2 separate regions of the Homo sapiens genome follow, and region 2 is linked to region 1. Evidence: promoter capture Hi-C in 16 types of primary human blood cells and fetal thymus (Javierre and others, 2016). All regions are on one chromosome and are shown on one strand. Each heading gives the region's core, a stretch centred on a gene start or on the middle of the fragment in contact. The rest is flanking DNA. Distances are from core to core; before and after follow the strand shown. Region 1 holds the start of PODXL (podocalyxin like). Region 2 has its middle 82 kb from the start of PODXL.

Region 1 (4,673 bases), core at 1,760-4,259:
GAGGTCCACTATTTTGTCCATGGTCATGCACATCTCTCTGACCCAAAGTCTGAGTGTTTCCACCCCACCAAGCTGCCTTTCTGTTGCCCAGAATTCATCCATTGAACATCAGATTGAGAGTACTGAATCAGCTTGTCCTTTCAGTAGCTGAGGGAACACGGAACCCCAGATATCTTATCATGGTGGAACTAGAGGTCCCTTTGGTTCTTTTATTCTATCTCACAAATAACGAAACGGAGGCACGGAGATGTGACTTACCATTGTGGTTCTGCCAGATGGTTATCAAACCAAAAAGCACTGAAAGGGGGTCTGATGAATTGTCCAACCCTTAAGGTGAATGCTTTCTTTGCTGTAGGCTGCATAATCTGCCCATATATTGGAAGGTAAGCTGGGGGAGAGGGGCAGGGATGGACCTGTCTGGGGATAATTCCTTTGTTGCAGAGACTCGAGCTATAAATCTTTCTTGCTTTGAATCAAATCACAGGATTCCAGCAGATGGGGGGCAGTGTTTATGCTATTCCCGATGACAGCAGCCCAGGCGACCACACCTTCAGAAGGACAGGGATGGAGCTGGCCTTACTGAGTCCCTAGAGGGTGGTGTAGAATGCACCATAGCTACTGAACAGACCAATCTTGCCGCAACATGCCCCCCACAAGCCTTTTCTGGCCTCAATACATGCAAATCATCATCACCATCATGATCATCATCCTCTCCCCATCCCCCACTTAGCACTTTGCACTTTTCTAAGTGCTTCCCAACAGTGCTGCATACTATAATGCATACAGTGCTCAGATAGGCCAAGTTACTTGCTGGTTAGAGCAGGCACTGGGTTATGGTCATTTTTGTTTGCCACATACCAAACTTCTGCCATGTGCCAAACCCTGTGTTAGGCCAGAAGTGGTGCTTCATGGAAGAGACATGGTTTCTGGCAGTGCCCAGGTGCCAGGAAAAACAGTGCCATCCTTGAAGCCAGCAGTGAGCTGGAGTCAGAGCTTTGCCCACTGGTGACTTATGAACATTTCCTTTTAGGGCAGACAGGGAGGGTCTTGTCCCACAGTGCCTCCCACTCCTCAAAGGAAGGGTGGCTCAGCTTCCTTAAGCTCAGAAGCACTAGGGACTAACCCCTCTTTCCTGACACAGCCCAACGCCCTTCTGGGTGGTTCTAAGAGGCTTCCCAACAAAAGGTTCGTATGAAGGCCCACCCTGAAGTCCAGCTGTCCCCAGAGTAGGGCTAAGGAGCCACCATACTCTCGTGTCATCTCAACCCTGCATGTCGTGTGGCTCTTCAGTGATTGCCACTCTGAAAGCTGTTCTGACTGTTCCTCACACTGCAGCCCCTCTTCCAGGGACACACATTCTTCCCCCCGCCGGGACCTTCCCTTTCTAGTCAGGCTGGTGGAGTCTCCCGCCGGCCACAGGAGGATGCCCACGCCTGCCTGCTCCCTGAGTGCCAGCGCCTGCCCACTACCAAAGGTTTCCTGCGGTGCAGAGGAGAGACTGTACTGCCCTTCCATCTCCCCTGGCCCCTTAGAGTCCAGTCCCAAACTGCCGGCACCTGCTCACAGCAGAATCCCTACCCTGTCTGTGCTGTCCCCGCAGTCCTCCTGGCCCTAGGGTGATCACACCACCTCAGCTCTTCCTGCAGACATGTGCTCAGGTGGGCAAAAGAGAATGAGAAATGCACCTCTCCCGTGGGGCTGAGCTGACTCTGGCTGTTCCCTAGGGGCTTAAGAACACCTGTTCTGGTTGAGTTTGCAGCCATCGCCTGTCCCCCAAAAGGGAAAGAGTAACATTTCACCTTGAAAAGAAACAGGGAGGGGATGTTTCTGAGGTGCAGGTGTTTCATGAGAGACAGGTACATTTTCTAAGGTGTGTCTAAAATGCAGCCCAATCCTATTCTACGAGAGAGAAGTTCCCGTTTGAACAAGTTCCCGTTTGAACAAGAGGATTCGAGGGGGGTCTCACCATCGTAGCCACGCACTAAGAAGCGATTGTTTTAGGGACACGGAGGTAGGACCCCCACTCAGCCAGGTGACTCTGGGACTGTGGAAGGTCCACTTACGACTCTGTACCTGCCCCAGCACGGGCTCAAGGAGTTGAGCCTGCACACATTACTTAGAAAAAACCTCTGCAAACGGGTAAGTACATCGCCCGCGTGGGCCGTGGCTGGAGGCTTGTCACCTGCTTCAGGGACTTCCTCGGGAGCCTCTCGCCTGCCTCTTTGCCTGGAATTAACGAATACACACTACAGCCCCTCATTCCCTCCAACACGAAGGAAAGGTGTAATCAGATCCCGAGAGTCCCGCAGAAGCGTGGAGCCTCGCGGTGCGGTCTCCCTTTTCTTTCCCATGCAAACCCACTTAGCACCGGCGCGCCCCTGTTTGCCCGGGCAGAATCCACCGCCCACTCCTCCCGAGTGGAGAGTGGAGACGAATCTACGCCCAGGCCCTGCACCTGCCGCGCTGCGGAGTTTGGAGGGGGCGTGGATGGTGCAAGGTCAGGGCTCCGTGTGTGACCCCGGCGGTGATAGGGCTGCTCGGGGTCGGACCACGCGGCGCGCCGGGCTTCCCTGCAGCTCGGCCGGGCAGGGGGCACATGGGCACGGTGGGAGTCCCGGCGGAACCCAGGCCGGCCACTCACCATTCTGGGAGGGCGACGGCGACGGCGACGGCGACGACGGCAGCAGCGGCGGCGTTGACAACAGTAGCAGCAGCGCCGAGAGCGCCAGCGCGCAGCGCATCGTGTCGTCGCCTCTGGGCCGGGAGCAGGTGGCTGCGGTGCCGGCGGAGGATCCGCGCGTCCGGGCGGTAGGAGCGTGGGCGCCGCCCGGGGAGGCCTGTGGGTGGCTCCGGAGGCCAGGCTGTGGCCCGGGGCTCCCGAGTCGCGCTGCGGCGGCTCTTCCTCCCTGCCGCTGCAGCAGAGCCGGGCTGGGGCGCAGAGCCAGTGGCAGAGGAGCGGCGGCGGCGGCGGCTGCGTCCTGGGCGGCGTCTGCGCGGCTGCGGCCCCACTGGCGGCTGCGGCTACTCCTGGCCCGTCCCGTCAGCGCCGGCCCCCGCCCCCGCCCCCGCCCCTCCCCCTCCCCCAGGAGCCCGCCAGCGGCGGCGGCCGGGCCGGGCGGGGCCGGGGCCGGGGCTGGGCGGGCGCTGGGCCGTGAACAATGAGCAGAGGAGGAAACTCCGCCCTGGAGCGCGACGGGCGGGAGGGCCGGCGGCCTCCGCGCCTTGGGGGGCTGTGTGTGCGCGGGGGCCAGGGCGGGGGGCTCCTGCGGTGCAGCCGGGCCCCGTCCACAGGTGTCCCGAACAGGTGTGTCCCCCCGAGTGCTTCTAAGTGGGCCCGGCGGGATCCCCCAGCACACCGCCGGGGCCCTCGCACTACGAGCAAATCCGGAGCGGGCGGACCCCCAGCCTTGCGTGGTAACTGATAACCATTCACGGCCTCCCGGGCTGCTGCGCGTTCTGCAGCGACCCCGGAGAAGCTCATCTCCCACCTGCCAAGTGCAATTCACCTGCCTGTGGGGCCCCCATCCCGCACGGCTTCTGAGCGGGGTCTCTCTGCAGCTAGGTGTGCAGCGGGCAAGCTGGACTAATTCACTCCTTCACCTCTCCAAGGGTAGGTTCCTTACCTGTGAAATGGAGATGATGGTTAAAAAACAACAGCAACAACAATTTCAGGGATGAATGTGTGCCAGGCTTTACATATATTAATTCTTTTACTCTTCATGACAACCATATTTTTAGCCTCATTTTGCAGACAGGGCAATTGAGTCAAAAAGAGGTTAAGAAACTTCCTGAGGCCACATAACGGGTAAGTGGCAAACCTGCCTCTGAGAGAAGTTTGGAGAAATACCGTGCACCGTGCCTGGAATATAGTAATTGCTCTGCAAGGAGTGGTTATTACTCTTATTCCTGCTATATAAAGAACAGCTATAAAGATTAGGGCTTTTGGGTCAAAACAGGCTGGGGCTCAAAACCTAACTGTGCCAATCTATTAATTGTAAAACCCTAGGCAAGCTATTCTCAGTACCTCATTTCTTTTTATCTGTAAAATAGGGATAATAACACCTACCTCAGGGGGTTGTTGGGAAACTTAAATGTGATCTTACAAGATAATACTTAGCCTAGGGCCAGGAACACAAAAGTCTCAATGAATGAAGTAGTTCGCCCTCCAAGTGAGGATCAGAGATATTTGCACACTGGGGGTGGGAGTGGGTGTTGGAGAATTCCGTAAACTGAGTTTATCCGGTGAAAGAACAAAGAAGTTCCTTTCCCCTCCCCCGCTCCCCTCCTTTTTTCCACCCCCAAAGCTGCCTGGGAGACGCAGACCCCAGGCCCGCCTGAAGAGGAGGCACATCGGCGGAGCCGGGAAGCGGAGGGGGCGAGGGGTGATTAACCTTGGAACCCGGGTACGGCGTAAATTTGGCTCACGTGACTCCGGGGTTGCTAATCTGGAGTCTATCTGCCAGATGGGGCTGGGTGGAGGGGTTTTCTCCAGGATCTAGCCGCGTCCCGGGCACAGGGGACTCCGTGAGCCCCTCAAGTCGGCTGCAAGCAGGCGATGCCTGCAGGGCACTGCGTCCCTGGAGCCGCGAAGGAAGCGCTGGAGCCCTGGCTGGGGTTCCGTGGCAGCCGGCCTCAAGCTTGGGAAGGGCTGACGGGGTTGTTTTCATCAGGAA
Region 2 (5,289 bases), core at 1,800-4,299, 82 kb after region 1:
TGGCTTTAAGTGTTTTATCTGCAGGGAGGGACTCTTGGGACGCCCTGAGGTTTGAGGTGTTGGCAGCTACCTCTGGAAGGGGGTGCATGAGGGCCTTGATGTTCTTCTACCCAAGGACTCTCATGCAAACTTTTTTTTTTTTTTTTTTTTTTTGAGACGGAGTCTCACTCTGTCTTCCAGGCTGGAGTGCAGTGAGGCGATCTCAGCTCACTGCAACCTCTGCCTACCAGGTTCAACCGATTTTCCTGCCTCGGCCTCCTGAGTAGCTGGGACTACAGGCACGTGCCACCACACCTAGCTAATTTTTTGTATTTTTAGCAGAGACGGGGTTTCACCATGTTAGCCAGGATGGTCCCCATCTCCTGACCTTGTGATCTGCCCGCCTCGGCCTCCCGAAGTGCTGGGATTACAGGCGTGAGCTATTGAACCCAGCCTCTCATGCAAACTTTTCATGCAGAAAGCGTACGAAGGTTTTGGGTTGGCCTCTTTCTTTCCTTTAAGTCAGGGTGTGACACGGGTGTGGAATAGCATGACAATTTCCACTAAGGGATCCAGTGCTGCTGTAATTGTTGGTCTTGGCCTCTGTCCTCACTAATGTGATCGTGAACTACCAGAAGGGAAGATGACGATCGCCAAGGAGTACGTGGGAAATGCGCTCCCCGCGCCAGCACAGGAGGTGGTCCGGAGATAGGAGGGCCAAGCTGCACACAGAAGCAAGAGGAAGGGCTGCGAGGAAGGCCTGGGAGCAGGCCCAGGGTGGGTGCAGGAGAGAGGCAAGAGCAGAGCTGAGGAAAGGAGCCACAGATAGGCATGGAATCTCCACTCTGGGCCTTGCTCAGGCGCCATTCCACGATGCTACAGAATTGGAGTTACAGGTAGATCCTGGAAAAGTCGTGTTCAACCTAAGGTCAAAGGACAGACTCTCGTGCCAAAGGACCTTTCTTTTTATTTTTTATTTTTTGAGACAGGTTCTCACTCTGTCACCCAGGCTGGAGTGCAGTGGTGCAATCTTGGCTCACTGCAGCCTCAACCTTCTGGCCACAAGCAATCCTCCTGCCTCAGCCTCCTGAGTAGCTGGGACTACACGCATGTGCCACCATGCCCAGCTAATTTTTGTATTTTTTGTAGAGACAGGGTTTCACCATGTTGCCCAGGCTGGTCTGGAACTTCTGGACTCAAGCATTCCACCTGCCTTGGCCTCCCAAAGTGCTGGGATTACAGGTGTGAGCCACTGTGCCTGGTCCAGGACCTTGCTTTTATGCAAACTCAGAAGGCTGGAAGACCTGCTTGGTGTGAGTGTGTGGCAACATCAGCATGGTCCAGAAGGATACATGGAGACCCAAGAGTTGGGGCCCATGGAGGAGCCTGAGGATGGGAGAAAAGAGGCAGAAGGGATGCCTGGAAGCATCTGCTGAAAACTTTAAACTTGAGCTGCCTTCAGCCACCACAGGGCATGCCTGGGCTGGGGCTTTTCTTTGTCTTTGAGGGTCAGGCCCATGCCCAGCCGAGCATTCTAGAGCAGGGAGGAAGCTAGAGGACATCTGCTCCCATCCCCTCATTTTAGAGTTGGGAAAACTGCCACCTGGAGAGAGTAAATGACCTGCTGAAGCTCACACAGCTTAGGACTCCTGACTCTTGGGCTACTGCCCTTTCTACTGAGCCATTTGGTCTCAGAGGGGCCAGTCCTCAGCAGCATCTCCTCACTGGCAGGCCATGGCCCTCTTGGTACCAGGACTTGTGTCCTCCAAGGTGGACAACCAGAGCAAGGCCACTGTCTCTGGAAAGTTGCCATTGGAATGAACATGTGAGCGCCTAAAGGGAAGGGGGTGGTAGGAGTACATGAGGACTCCTGAAGATAGGGAGTTTTAAGTCGAAGACATGAATGTCTAAGGGTGAAATTGTGAGTATCAGCCAGCTGGTGAGAGTATTATTTCTCTAGTGCCCTCAAGTGTCTTCCCAGTCCTGGGCGTTTACACTGGCGTGGGCCCTGATGCTGATGGAGTGTAGCCCCCTATTCAAACTACCTGGCTCACATGGCCACATCTGCGTAGGTCTGGGAGCAGATGGACTTGGTCATCTCAGAGGGTGGAGAATAGGACACAGAGCGGACAAAAGAGGATGTGCCAGAGAGGCCTGGGGGACCTGCTGTGGGGTTTGGGGTCCTGGATGAACCTGCTGACTGGGATACCCTGCTGTGGGCCCTGCAGGCAGCTCAGGGTGAGCACTTCCAGGAGACAGAGCCTCACTCCCCCAAAGCCCCCTTATCACCATCACAGGGAGAGCACCAGAGCCGTGAGAGCAGGTACCACCACCCCAGGCCACATTCCTCTCATAAGTGGAATAACACAATGGCCCTTTTAACTTAAACTTCCTTCTTAATTGACTGCTGCGGAGAGAGCAGTCCATCATCCCCCCACCTCCACCCCCACCTCTCCTGCTCTGGGCCCTGTTTATGGTGCTGATGAGCAGGGCGGGGGAGCTTCCTGGCTGGGCTGACATGATGATAAAGGGCAAAGCCCTGCACGCCTTGCCAGCCCCTGGCTGGGGGCTGTGGCTGGAGCCGCCTCGTACCCGAGACCCTGATGTTTAGAGAAACTTCAGGCGGACTTGTGGGCTCCCACGTTCCTGGTACAACTTGGGAATTATGTTGAATCGTGTTGGTGAGGATCCCTGGAATCCCAGTGGTCCCATTCCCCAGCCTCCCTCTCTAGATGTTTACAAGCCAGGTGATGGGCTCGGTGTTGGAGAGAGAAACATTGGCTCCCCTAGAAAGGGAACACGGTGGTCCCAGGACTCCACAGTCAGGTCTTGGCCAGTCTTGGGTGGAAAACCCAAACCCAGAGCGTCTACTAGGTGGATTAGGGACAAAGACTGCAAATCCCGATGTATCTGTGAGGCCAACCCTGGGTCTTGGCATTGGGTGGGCAGGCCCCTCGTCAGCCTCAGGATCTGTGTCAGGGTCTGTATCAGCAGCGGCACCTGCAGGAAGCAGCTGCACCTCCCATCACCTCTCAGGCCCAGAAGGTACAGAACATTGTACCCCGAGATGTTAGCCGGTGGGAAGAGGAAGGGAAGATGGTGGAAATGGATTCCATGTTAGCCGCTGGGAAGAGGAAGGGAAGATGGTGGAAATGGATTCCGAGGAAAGCCAGCTCTGCCTGAGGGGGATCTTATCAGAGCTGGGGCCAGGGCCTATTGCTCTGCAGACAGTGGGAGTTCAGCAAACAACAGTGACAATTAACATGTATTGAGTATCCAGTGTTGTTATCTGACAGACACACCTCTACATGCTTTGTAAAATATCTCTTTATCCTTGTAACAATCCTCTGATTCTTAATTGGTTTTATTTTTAACAGGTCAAGTCACTGAGGTGCAGAGACACTGCCTTCCTGTCCTAAAGTCCAGTTCAGGCCAGCTCTCTCCAGAGTTCCAGGCTTTTGGTCTCCGTCTGCAGATCTCCTTTGCTTTGAATGAGTCTGTCCCTGAGGAGGGCTAGGAGCAACCTTGAGAAGGAACATGATGGTCACTAATTCAGCCAGAACACTCTCAAGGTGCATTCTGAGCGAGGCTGATGCCAGGTGCAGAACAAACACCTCTTGCGCCTGGGAGCTTCCTGAAGTTTGGAGAATGTGTCAGATATCACCTGTTTGCCCCTGGGGGCCTAGCCCCACCCCTGTCTGCATTTCGTGCAGACTACACTGGGGCCTCCGTTGCCCTCCGTTTGGCCAGCAGGAAGCTCTGGCAAAAGATCAGTGGGATAGAGGAAGATGCTTTGGGGATTTATTTTTCCCGCTCCCTCTCTGGGGATCCCTGAAGGGACAGCTGTGCCTTCTGTCCAAGTGTCCTATTTTCCCTCTTCTCCAGGACTAGTGGTAAACCTTTTCCTAGTTCCTTCAGTTCAAAGGGGGAATAGGTGCCTTGTTCCAGCCCTGGGGTATAGCCCTGTCTCTTCTGGTTCCTCTTCAATCTGCCCTGTGTAAACAGCCCCTTTCTTTTTAAAACTCTCCTACAATAGGCCAGGCACAGTGGCTCATCAGGCCTGTAATCCCACACTCTGGGAGGCAAAAGCGGGCAGATCAGTTGAGGTTGGGAGCTCAAGACCAGCCTGGGAAACATGGTGAAACCCTGTCTCCACTAAAAAATACAAAAATTAGCCAGGTAATCCCTGCACTTTGGGAGGCCAAGGCAGGCGGATCACAAGGTCAAGAGATCGAGACCATCCTGGCCCACATGGTGAAACCCTACTAAAAATACAAAAATTAGCCGGGTGTGGTGGTGCGCACCTGTAGTCCCAGCTACTTGGGAGGCTGAGGCAGGAGAATTGCTTGAACCCGAGAGGTGGAGGTTGCAGTGAGCCGAGATCATGCCACTGCACTCCAGCCTGGGCGACAGAGTGAGACTCCATCTCGAAAAAAAATCTTTCCTGCAATCATCCTAGTTAGAGTGTGCTATTTGTTTTCTGCTGGGCACTGACTGATACAAAGAATAGGACCTATAGATAGAAAATTGCTGGTGGAGGCTGGGCATGGTGGCTCGTGCCTGTAATACTGGCACTTTGGGAGGCTGAGGCAGGCGGATCACGAGGTCAAGAGATCGAGACCATCCTGGCCAACATGGTGAAACCCTACTAAAAATACAAACATTAGGCCAGGCGCCGTGGCTCATGCCTTTAATCCCAGCACTTTGGGAGGCCGAGGTGGTTGCATCACCTGAGGTCAGAAGTTCGAGACCAGCCGGACCAACATGGAGAAATCCCATCTCTACTAAAAATACAAAATTAGCCAGGCGTGGTGGCAGGTGCCTGTAGTCCCAGCTACTTGGGAGGCTGAGGCAGGAGAATCACTTGAACCTGGGAGGTAGAGGCTGTGGTAAGCTGAGATCGCGCCATTGCACTCCAGCCTGGGCGAGAAGAGCGAAACTCCATCTCAAAAAAAAAAAAAAAAGAAAAAAAGCTGGGCATGGTGGTGTGCACCTGTAGTCCCAGCTACTCGGGAGGCTGAGGCAGGAGAATCGCTTGAACCCGGGAGGCAGAGGTTGCAATGAACCTAGATTGTGCCACTGCACTCCAGCCTGGTGACAGAGCAAGACTCTATCTCAAAAAACAAAAAAGAAAATAACTGGTGGAGCACAATTTTTCCACACTGCAGGGGAGTGAGTGCGGTAGGAGTCTGGAGGAGTGAACGTTCTTGTGGCCTGGGGCAGACGGAGAGGTCTTCCTGAAGGTCATGGGATCTGAGACCGTGAAGGACAGTGGGAACTCACATGTCTGAGTAGCTCCTAGCACGGTGC

Evidence for each region. Contacts are between HindIII fragments. The CHiCAGO score rates a contact against its expected background, and 5 or more counts as called.
Region 2: a contact is called between a fragment that was not itself captured here and the fragment with the promoter of PODXL in region 1, in 1 of 17 cell types (endothelial precursors). The highest score is 5.1, in endothelial precursors.

Annotation. Positions count from the first base shown.
Region 1 is chr7:131,553,619-131,558,291 of GRCh38, forward strand. It overlaps PODXL (podocalyxin like), which reads right to left and starts at 3,010. Exons shown (of 9, transcript NM_001018111.3): 1 at 2,642-3,010. The coding sequence starts at 2,741. RefSeq lists silencers at 2,631-3,140, 3,221-3,280, 3,311-3,430 and an enhancer at 3,398-3,945. The HindIII fragment of the contact is 4,965 bases long and covers 1-4,635 here.
Region 2 is chr7:131,635,650-131,640,938 of GRCh38, forward strand. No RefSeq gene overlaps it. Among named protein-coding and RNA genes, the nearest start is that of PODXL, 82 kb to the left of the region's middle. RefSeq lists an enhancer at 2,644-3,240. The HindIII fragment of the contact is 7,477 bases long and covers 1-5,289 here.